Regions from separate parts of the Homo sapiens genome. Here all the other regions are linked to region 1. Evidence: promoter capture Hi-C in 16 types of primary human blood cells and fetal thymus (Javierre and others, 2016). All regions are on one chromosome and are shown on one strand. The core of a region is centred on a gene start or on the middle of the fragment in contact, and the rest is flanking DNA. Distances in the headings are between cores, read along the strand shown. Region 1 holds the start of PFDN1 (prefoldin subunit 1). Region 2 has its middle 34 kb from the start of SLC35A4. Region 3 overlaps ZMAT2 (zinc finger matrin-type 2). Region 4 overlaps HARS1 (histidyl-tRNA synthetase 1).

Evidence for each region. Contacts are between HindIII fragments. The CHiCAGO score rates a contact against its expected background, and 5 or more counts as called.
Region 2: a contact is called between a fragment that was not itself captured here and the fragment with the promoter of PFDN1 in region 1, in 1 of 17 cell types (monocytes). The highest score is 6.1, in monocytes.
Region 3: a fragment that was not itself captured here is called in contact with the fragment with the promoter of PFDN1 in region 1 in 9 of 17 cell types (fetal thymus, naive CD8 T cells, non-activated CD4 T cells and 6 more); the score reaches 12.0 in fetal thymus.
Region 4: a contact is called between a fragment that was not itself captured here and the fragment with the promoter of PFDN1 in region 1, in 1 of 17 cell types (fetal thymus). The highest score is 6.0, in fetal thymus.

The regions. Positions count from the first base shown.
Region 1 is chr5:140,301,685-140,304,384 of GRCh38, reverse strand. It overlaps PFDN1 (prefoldin subunit 1), which reads left to right and starts at 1,284. Exons shown (of 4, transcript NM_002622.5): 1 at 1,284-1,344. The coding sequence starts at 1,312. RefSeq lists a silencer at 1,175-1,379 and an enhancer at 1,268-1,547. The HindIII fragment of the contact is 1,473 bases long and covers 884-2,356 here.
Region 2 is chr5:140,597,477-140,600,176 of GRCh38, reverse strand. It overlaps a transcript of TMCO6 not described here. Among named protein-coding and RNA genes, the nearest start is that of SLC35A4, 34 kb to the right of the region's middle. The HindIII fragment of the contact is 4,151 bases long and covers 1-2,700 here.
Region 3 is chr5:140,706,143-140,708,842 of GRCh38, reverse strand. ZMAT2 (zinc finger matrin-type 2) reads right to left here. Exons shown (of 6, transcript NM_144723.3): 6 at 2,157-2,700. Among named protein-coding and RNA genes, the nearest start is that of ZMAT2, 7.0 kb to the right of the region's middle. The HindIII fragment of the contact is 9,003 bases long and covers 1-2,700 here.
Region 4 is chr5:140,686,533-140,689,232 of GRCh38, reverse strand. The region is part of intron 2 of HARS1 (histidyl-tRNA synthetase 1); the gene reads left to right. Among named protein-coding and RNA genes, the nearest start is that of HARS1, 3.5 kb to the left of the region's middle. The HindIII fragment of the contact is 2,465 bases long and covers 200-2,664 here.

The DNA.
Region 1 (2,700 bases), core at 35-2,534:
GGTGCGGTGGCTCAAGCCTTTAATATCAAAGCACTACAGCACTTTGGGCGACCAAGGCGAGCGGATTGTTTGAGCTCAGGAGTTTGAGACCAGCTTGGGCAACAAGGTGAAAACCCGTCTGTACAAAAATATAAAAATTAGCTGAGTGTGGGTGGCGCGCGCCTGTAGTCCCAGCGCTACTCACGAGGCTGAGGTGGGAGGATCGCTTGAGCGCGGGAGGTAGAGGCTGGAGTGAGTCGTGATTGCACCATTGCACTCGAGCCTGGGTGACAGAGCAAGATCCTGTCTCAAGAAACAAACAAACGTACAAAAAAAAAAAAAAACCCCACAAAATATCCAAGTGACTTGCTTAAAGTCACACAATTAGTAAATGGAACCAGACATAGGCTAAAGGCAGACCAAGCCTTGAATCTAGATTAGGCTGGTTCCAAATTCCCTGCCCTTTCATCTCCCTAACAGTTTGTTTTCTTTCTCTCTTTCTTTCTTTTTTTAAAAAATAAAATAAATTTCCTAATTATTTATGTAGCACTTTCTCTTAGCATAACAGTTTTTAGAGTAGGTTAACTTTTTTTTCCATTTCCAAAAGTCAATTATTATCTATTCTGGTTCAAATGCCAGGTCCTTTTATGGCAGAGATTCTCAAAAAAGTGATCCGCGGAGGAGTTGCACCATTAGGTCACTGGGGTAGTCTGCAAAAGTGCAAATTTCCAGACCCCATTCTCAAAGATTCTGAGTACGTTTGAGATGAGACCCAGAGAACCTGCATTTTTTTGTTTTTAAACAAACGTATTCAGCCTCTCTTGAGAACCACTGTGCCTAGAATGTCTTTGGGAAGCTTTTGGAAGTAATAAGTTCGTTTTGGAAAGAACACTCCAGACAAGCTTTCCAATAGTCTTTCCCAAACTGTCATGCCTGAGGTTCTGGACTTACTCTTACTCATTCCTGAGAGCACAGCGACTAGCTGAAGGACTGATCGACTGATGAGGGTTTGACCTCATCTACATACATCTCAATTTAGCAGCACATATTAAGCTAGCTGGCAAACTGCTTAAAGCCACATGGGAAATCTGCGCGTTGGGCTATGTCTGGAAGATACGGAGGAGCAAGCCAGACCTGACCGGTCAGGTAGTGAAGACACGGAATCCGAAACCCAAATATTTCAGGAGTCAATTCTCAGAGAAAGATAAGAAGCCCGGTTAGTCCAACTCATGCGCAGGCGCAGAAGAAAGACCGGCGCACAAAGTAAGACGCGCCCTTCCCCACCCTATTTCAGTCCAACTCCCACTGCGCAGGCGCTTACAGTGCACCAAGATGGCCGCCCCCGTGGATCTAGAGCTGAAGAAGGTAAAAGAGGGTCTTTGGCAGGCGGAGGTCTTCTTTTTGGAGGCTGAGGGGACTATAGACAAGAATATCAAGTGAGGCACGAGCCTTGCAGAAGGAAGGAGGGTCCAGTGGACTAGGGAATGGTTTCCCAGAGTCCTAAGGCCTCACTGGGTCTCCATAAACGGGGTGGGGGGCGAGCGGCTCTTGCTGGGTAGGAGCCGGTTGGTCTGGGTCGGGTAAGTCTGCGGGCCTGTCTCGGGCTTGTCCAGTCTTTCTGAGCTCCAGAGACATTTCGTTGCGTTTGGAGGCTTCAGGGACTCACTTTCATAGTAAGAACTAAAGAGAGCATTTCAAATGGGGGTCCCTTCGGACCCCTTGCCTGAGCTGTGGCATCCGTAATTCTGCCTCATTTGCTTTGAAAAACTCCAAGTCCAACCTTTGTTTTTAGGCCATTTATTCGGTTCTGTACCTTGAAAGTTGCAATATCTACAGTTCGGAAAACCAAGCATTGTAGCAGCAATGTTCATTTCAGGATTTTGCCCCCCCTCCACTTCTTTTGAAGGACTCGTCAAACAAAACAAAACAAAACCTCCTTCTTTTGAAGGAATTGTCAAAAACAAAACAAAACCAGTAAAGTTTTCCAAATAAAACCGGTATCGGAAGGAATTGGGTTTCCTGTTTTCCTCAGTTGCTTATAAATGTGTTGTTATTCAGATTTTTGCTATCTAAGAATGATCAGCATTCTAACACCACTAATGACCCCAAACCAGTATGCTTTGTGCGGTGGGGTGGATTGGAAAGGACCCTAGAATTTATCTATTTTAAATCTACTTTTCTGGAAAAGGAACCAGTGCCAGAAAAGTCTGTCAGAAGTTGGGACTAGAATCCAGTATTCTCTGCCTTATCTCACACTTTTTTGACCACTATTTTGAGTTCTTCAGATGAGCAACATCTTAGTTAAGACTGCCTGTGGTCAACTTGTGTAAAAGAAATAGGACAGCCGAAATAGCTGTTGCTTCTAACAAATGAAGCTTTTGTTAGTGTTGTGAGGATATTATGTGTTTGTGTCTTGCTTTTGTTCTTCTTGTCTTGAATCTTGTAAATTTAGCTCTTAGGTGGAGTCTCTAATCTTTAACAGTATACTAGCTCATCTTTAATGGTATACTAGCTTCCTTAGCAAGCTGTATAGAGCAGTCAGATGATACCTGGAATTTTACATTTCAAAACAAAATTGTGCATTCTAAAAATTTACCTTTTCTTCTGTTAAAAGTACCGATTTAAATCAGGGTTTAGTGAATGGATTTGCCTCCCGGTACTTTTGAATTTATTGCTACATTTGAAACTTGCGGGCGGTGAATGCAAACTAAGAAAATGATT
Region 2 (2,700 bases), core at 49-2,548, 300 kb before region 1:
GAAAGATATAAAATAATCTTAAACATAAAATACCCATAACATTTTGGATGATGTTGGAGAAACCATTCAATGGGGAGAGAAGTGCCTGGAAGAGCTCCATAACAAAATGGAAGTTGTTTCTGATGGAACATACCACTGGGGGAATGCCAGGAGATACCATATTTCCAAGCAGATAGACTTTTTCCCCTAGAATTGACTTTTGAACCACCTGAGGAGCTGCCAGATTTTATTTTATTTTATTTTATTTTATTTTATTTTATATTTTATTTGAGATGGAGCCTTGCTCTGTCACCCAGGCTGGAGTGCAGTGTTGCGATCTTGGCTCACTGCTCACTGTAACCTCCGCCTCCCAGGTTCCAGCGATTCTCCTGCCTCAGCCTCCCGACTAGCTGGGATTACAGGTGTGCACCACCATGCCCAGCTAATTTTTATATTTTTAGTAGAGATGGGGTTTCCCCATGTTGACCAGGTTGGTCTCAAACTCCTGACCTCAGGTGATCCGCCCTCTTCGGCCTCCCAAAGTGCTGGGATTATAGGCGTGAGCCACAGCACCTGGCTGGAGCTGTCAGATTCTACTGCTACCTGGAGAGTGTCCTATAAACAGCAAAGAGCTTCTTGGTTTATAATCGCAGTTCCAAGGTGAATGTGCAGCATCTTGTTTGGAAGGCTAAGAAGGTAAAAACAACTTACCTTATAGGCTATTGCATTCTGTTTGCCACTACATTTGGGTTTTTACTGATTCATGGGTGGTGCATACTGACGTGATCATATGGTCAGGCTGAAGAGCAATAGAAAACTGCCCTCTTAAAGGGATCCCCTAAGAAAATCACTATGGAAATTTGAGGGATAGATTAAAGTAGGACATATCAATGCCCAATAGAAGAATCACTTTCCTGGATTGGAAGGTGATTGGCACCAGTGAGTGAATTTCCCAGTGTGCTCACTTGAGGTGGCCACCTGGGTCCATGGAATGAGTGGACCTAAGAATACTGTGGCAATGTAGAGATCTAGACATATTCCTCTTGCACCCTTTGAAGCACAAAATGCCAACAAGAACTGTTTTGTCTGCCAGCAAGAGAGACAGAGAATGCAGGTGGCCCTGGGGCACATTCCCCCGTTGGAAGGCCTCACACATAGCTGGTAGATAGATTACATTGAACAAATGCTGGCAGCCCTGGGGGCTACAAATGGGGTCTGACAGGAATAGACACTTACTTTGGTTTTTTGGTTTTTTTGTTTTTGAGATGGAGTCTTGGTCTGTCACCCAGGCTGGAGTGCAGTGGTGTGATCTCCGCTCACTGCTACCTCCTCCTCCTGGGTTCAAGTGATTCTCCTGTCTCAGCCTCCCGAGTAGCTGGGATTACAGTCGCCTGCCACCACACCTGACTAATTCTTTTGTAGTTTTAATAGAGACTGGGTTTCACCATGTTGACCAGGCTGGTCTCAAAATTTGACCTCAGGTGATCCATCTGCCTTGGCCTCCCAAAGTGCTGGGATTACGGGCGTAAGCCACTGCACCCGGCCAGGAATAGACACTTACTTTGGACTGGGCTTTGCACACCTAGTGGTAGATACGAATGCTGAAAATACTATTAAATTATTGGAACAAAAGATACTGTACTAATTTGGACCACCAAGTTACATTTCTTCAAACCAAGAGTCACACTTTACAGCCCATGATGTCCAACAGTGGACAAAGAGATATCACATCAAACAGACATACCACGTTGCATTGTCATCCTCAGAGTAGCAGTTTAATAGGGAATTGGAATGAGCACTTGAAACATTCATTGTCTAAAATGAGGTGAGTGAGGGTGCAGTGGCTCATGCCTATAATCCCAGCACTTTGGGAGGACGAGGCGGGAGGATCACTTTAGCGCAAGAGTTCAAAGCTGCAGTGAGATATCATGCCACTGCACTCCAGCCTGGGCAACAAAACAAGAACCTGTCTCTAAAAAAAAAAAACCAAATAAAATAAGAAAATAAAATTTAAAAATCAAGTAAAATGGGGGAGGGGATAAAGTTATGAAGCACTTGTTTAAATGTTTTCATGAGGGTATGCTCACATGCACCATGAGGGGGCCAAGGGAGAATCCCCATTGGAGAGATTCCTCCATTTTTCTAGGAAAATCTAGGGGAGAGGGGTTGAGGGAGGGTGTTGGTATGACTATATGATTCTTGCCCACATCACCTCAACTTTCTTTTTTGCCATCTGATGCAGAGGTTCCAGGACTAGAGATACATCTGCAGGTGCCAGAAGCATAGATAATTCCTAGGCAAGACATTGTAACTATACCTTTAAATCTTTATTTCAGCATTTCTAAGGACCCTATAGGTTAAGTTGTGCCCTCAACCCATCTGGCAAAATTTGAGTTGACAGTAAATGCTGCTGTATCATCCAGTGGCTAAGATAGTCCATTAGTCCTGTAGCTATATAGCCCTAATCTATATAAATTGGAGTGGACTGAAGGGGAGGCACTTGTTAAACTACTATTGTTGCCAGCAATCTGGACTAGCACAGTGGCCTCTCCTAATGTCCCTTCCAAAGGTAGAAAAGTTTGGGTATAAATGAGAGAATGAAGAATAATAGCTGAGGGTATGGAATGAATAACCCAATTAGGGAAATCCAATATTATGCTAACACTTTGAAAGAGACCCAGAGCAAGGGATGATATGGTTATACCAGAGGTCTGAAAGGAT
Region 3 (2,700 bases), core at 102-2,601, 400 kb before region 1:
ACTAAAAATACAATAAAAAAAAAAAATAGCCGGGCGTGGTGGCAGGCGCCTGTAATCCCAGCTACTCGGGAGGCTGAGGCAGCAGAATGGCATGAACCAGGAAGGTGGAGCTTGCAGTGAGCCGAGATAGCGCCACTGCACTTCAGCCTGGGCAACAGAGCGACTGTCTCAAAAAAGACCTGAAAGCAGCTTCTCTTTGAGATTTCTGAGTTATCTGGGATTGCTGTGGGCTCTTGAATTTCCATTCCATTTACTTTTCCAAGATGCCACCCTGAGCACCTCCAGACACTCCATGACTTAGGTCCCTTTGAGACTCAAACCACTTAACCAGTCCCAAGAGTTTAAAGATTCTTAAATTCAGAATTGCTTTTTAGATGCAACCAGAGGTAAGATCCCACTGTACCAAAAAGGGAAAGACATTCTTTGAAGCTAAATTGAACTAGATGGTTTCCTGAAGAATGAAGCCAGGGGTGGTGGCTCATGCCTGTAATCCTAGCACTTGGGGAGGCCGAGGAGGGCTATCACTTGAGGTCAGGAGTTCAAGACCAGCTGGCCAACACGGTGAAACGCCATCTCTTCTAAAAATACAAAAAAATTAGCTGGGGATAGTGGCGGCCACCTGTAATCCCAGCTATTCAGGACGCTGAGGCAGGAGAATCACTTGAACCTGGGAGGTGGAGGTTGCAGTGAGCTGAGATCGTGCCACCGTACTCTAACCTGAGTGACAGTGACACTCTCAAAAAAAAAAAAAAAAAAAAAAAAAAACTGAACCATGGAAGGAACTCACAAACCTCCAGCCTGCCTTGAAAGGGGTAACAAAATACCTAGTCAACAAGAAGACTGTCACCCAAGGGACCTGAAGTGCACATAATCCTGCCAAGGAAAGCACGCACCAATCTGCCCCCAGTTGCCCAGTACTTACTGTATCTAAAACTGAGCCAGGCCTTCAGCCCATAGGTGAAGATACATTCAGTGTTCCCAGTGGCAAGATTCAGCATCAGAAATTAGACAAAGGGCATGTCTTACAGTAAGGGAATTTTGTACAAAAGTCCAAAGGGAGGTGTATGGTGCTTTGTGGTTCAGATAATACAGAAAGTTGAGGAGCTTGATGGGGCAGAGAATGAAAACCAGCTATATGGTGGCAGCCTTGTTAACCCAAACAGATTCATTTACAGGTCCATTTTTTCAGGGTATAGAACCAGCAAGTTACAGGCTTCATCTGCTTGAAGTTAATGTGACTGTAGTTCTTCGTGTATGTATGGCTATTTTTTTCTTCTGCATCCCCTTGACTTGGCATAGTACTTGATCCAGTGGATATCAAAGTTTTGTGAGTTTCTGTTTTGAGTTTGCCAGTCTGTGCCATCTAATTCTCAAATCAGACCAAGGTAGGGAAGACAGCTAGCTTCTTCTTAGTGGTCTTCAATGTGGGTAGGGAGGGATTTTGCCTTTCTCAGAGGCATAGACATTTTTAGTTGTCACAATTGTGGAAGAGGGTGCTACTGGCATCTAGCAGGTAGAGTCCAGGGATGAAGTTAATCCTAAATCAAAATCAAAATAATAAACATCCTACAATGCCAGCATTGGTTTCTACAACAAATGATAATCTGGCCCAAAATCTCAACAGTGCCAAAATTAAGTAATTCTGTGTCTAGCAGACAGTAAGAAAAACACTAAGGGCCAGGTGCAGTGGCTCACGCCTGTAATCCCAGCACTTTGGGAGGCCGAGGCAGGTGGATCACCTGAGGTCAGGGGTTTGAGACCAGCCTAGCCAACATGGTGAAACCCCATCTCTACTAAAAATACAATATTAGCCACTTGAAGCCAGGAGGCGGAGGTTGCAGTGAGCCAAGATTACGCCACTGCACTCCAGACTGGGCGATAGAGCAAGACTGTCTCAAAAAAAAGAAAAAAAAAAAAGAAAAAACATTATGTTCAATCCTGAGCTCTGCTGTTCCAAAAACAAAAGATCAAAGGAGTCTGAAATGATAGGAATCGTTTTGGTTCAGACTTCTCTGGACATAGATCCCTTATCAGACGAAAACATAACTCATGCTAAAAAAAAACCTAGGCAAAAATAAGATTTAAAATGGAAGAATAAAATACTCTATATGGAAATCCTCAGCATGAGAAGGAAAAACAAATATTCACAGGGAAGATTATGGAATGTTCTCACCAAATGTAAAACAGGCCCAGTCAATGCCATTTATTATACATGTCAAACAGCTTCTAAGACCGACGGGCTCCCATAATAAGGTTTTGGGGATTTTTTGTTTTGTTTTTCATTTTCTTTTTTGCATCAAACAGGTTCTTCCAAAAGCCTGCTCACAAGGTAGACAAAAACATAAATCTTCAGGAAAATGAAACATGAGAAGCTGAAACAATCTACACCTGAATGTTAAAAAACTCATCAGACACAAACCACACCAAACACTCATCCCATTTAATTTCCTGTTACATGCTCTGAGGAAGCCAAGAACATCAGGCCCCAGGGCAGCAATGCTCTAGGATTCCAGCTCGGACCCCCTCTATATGACAGATTCATGCACACACATCCACACACCATAGAACCAGGCAGAAATACACATGCATGCACAGGTGGCTAGAGAACCATAGGGCAGGATGGGAAAAAGGGCTGATCAAGGATATGCAATCAACTGGAAACTGGGACCTAGAGAATGCTTCTGTTGCAGGATGAACATG
Region 4 (2,700 bases), core at 183-2,682, 380 kb before region 1:
TAATACATGTATTTGAAATTGAATTCCAAAGGAGAGGGGAGATGGTCTGTTTTCCTTGTGTTAAGGTTAATTCTTTGGGATCCTAAATTCATTGAGCTGTTTCTTTCTACATATAACTAATTTTTGAAGGTTAAAGAGACAGTGTAAAATCCCAAAGTGGTGATCATCAATGATTTTTCAAACTATTAGATGAAAAGCTTACTGTGGAATTTATGATGGATCAGTCTGTCCTCACTAGTGATCAGTTTTAACATCACTAAAAGTAGGACAACTAGACATTATGTTCCTGCTGATGTGATGCAAGAAGAAGTACACAGCACCACCTGGGAAGTATTCTTGCCAAGTAAATTGAACTTGAATCTAATCAGATCTTTGGACTAACTATCAGTTTACAGGAAATACTAGAGATGGAGGAACATGTTAGATGGCACATCAAGCATATTGTTCACCAAATCTAGAATGTGAAAATTTTTTTTTAGGACAAATGGCCCAATTTCCTCAGTTAATAAATGACCTTTTTAAAATAAAAAAAAAAAGTTGGGGAGGGAAGGAAACTATTGTAGATTAAATAGACATATCAGCTGATTACAACGCATAGACTTCATTCTGAAGCTGATTCAAATAAATCAACCATAAAAAGATATTATTGAGGCAACTGGGGAAAACTGACCATGGCTTAGCATTAGATAATATTAAGGAGTTGCTGTTAGTTTTGTTAGTTATAATAAAGATAGAGTCTTTGGGGTTTTTTAAATGTCCGTATGAGTTAGAGATTCATACTGAAGTATTTATGGATGAAATGATATGACGTCTGGGATTTATTTAAAAATATGTAAGAAAAACATGTCAGGGCTTAAATGAAATAAGAATAGCAGATGTTAATGGTTGTTGAAGCTGGGTAATGGATAAATGGTGACCTGTAATACTATTCTCTATATTGTGTCTTTGAAAATTTCCATACTATAGTGTTAAGATTATGCTAGAGAGTTAATATCCATTTTAGTATTAACAATAGAAAACTCAGTATTGTGGGGACAAGACTCTTTCAAGGGATCTTCATGGTCAAAACTATTTCTATAATAATTCTTTTGTTTTGTTTTGTTTTGTTTTGTTTTGTTTTGTTTTGTTTGAGACGGAGTCTTGCTCTGTCGCCCAGGCTGGAGTGCAGTGGCGTGATCTCAGCTCACTGCAACCTCCGCCTCCCGGGTTCAAGCGATTGTCCTGCCTCAGCCTTCCGAGTAGCTGGGACTACAGGGATGTGCCACCGCACCTAGCTAATTTTTTGTATTTTTAGTACAGATGGGGTTTCACCGTGTTGGCTGCGCTGGTCTTGAATTCCTGGCCTCAAGTGATCCTCCCACCTCGGCCTCCTAAAGTGCTGGGATTACAGGCGTGAGCCACTGCGCCTGGCCCTTCTATAATAATTCTAAGACATTATCTGCCTTTTTCGTTGTGTTAACATTTGCACTGAAGGCACAAAAGCGCTGGTGAGTAGAACTGCTGGTGCCTTAGCATACATTAAGACAGTGACACTAAACTGTACTAATAGCCAGTGTGTTCTTCACTGCCATGCACTCACAGTAAGTAAATAAATAAATTAATTAATTAATTAATTTAAAAAATTCAGTTTTACTTAACTATGTCATTGATAAAATGGTAAAACTTTGTTTGTTTTGGGGTTTCTTTGGAGACAGAATCTCACTCTGTTGCCCAGGCTGGAGTTCAGTGTCACGATCTTGGCTCACTGCAGCCTCCACTTCCCGGGTTCAAGCAATTATTGTGCCTCAGCCTCCTGAGTATCTGGGATTACAGGCGGGTACCACCACATGCAGCTAATTTTTTGTATTTTTACAGAAATACAAAAAACATACAAGAAACCTACAACATGTTTCACCATGTTGCCCAGGCTGGTTTGGAACTCTTGAGCTCAGGCAATCTGCCCACCTTGGCCTCCCAAAGTGCTAGGCTGAGCCACCATGCCTGGCCAAAAACTTACTGATTTTATTGAATCTTGACCCTTGAGGACCCTATTTTTAAATATTTGCTATGACAAAATGGGAAGTACACATAAAGCACTTCTGCACGCCAAGGTAGGGAAAATGCTTATGCCATTGTTCAAGTTGCAAGCTGATCTAGCTACTTTTTTCATAGAACATCTTGTTTTATTTGAATTAACAACTGAAAGATAAATTATGGTTTTTCAAACTTAAATATTTGGCAGACATTTTTACAACAATAAACGAAGTGAGCCTCGTCACCTCAAGGAAAACATCTGACAGTACTTGTAGGCAGTGAAAAAATTCAAGTATTCAGGTGAAAGTTAGAATTTTAGAAAACTTAGTCAGGGCATGGTGGCTCAAGCCTATAATCCCAGCACTTTGGGAGACCAAGGCGGGCGGATCACCTGAGGTCGGGAGTTTGAGACCAACCTGACCAACATAGAGAAACCCCATCTCTACTAAAAATTAGCTGGGCGTGGTGGCGCATGCTTGTAATGCCAGCTACTAGGGAAGCTAAGGCACAAGAATCGCTTGAACCTGGGAAGCAGAGGTTGTGGTGAGCCGAGATCGCGTCATTGCACTCCAGCCTAGGCAACGAGTGAAACTACATCTCAAAAAAAAAAAAAAAAGAATTTTAGAAAACTTGCATCTTCCATCATAAGCTTGACAGCTTCCCAATAATTAAAGAGTTTTCTACTGG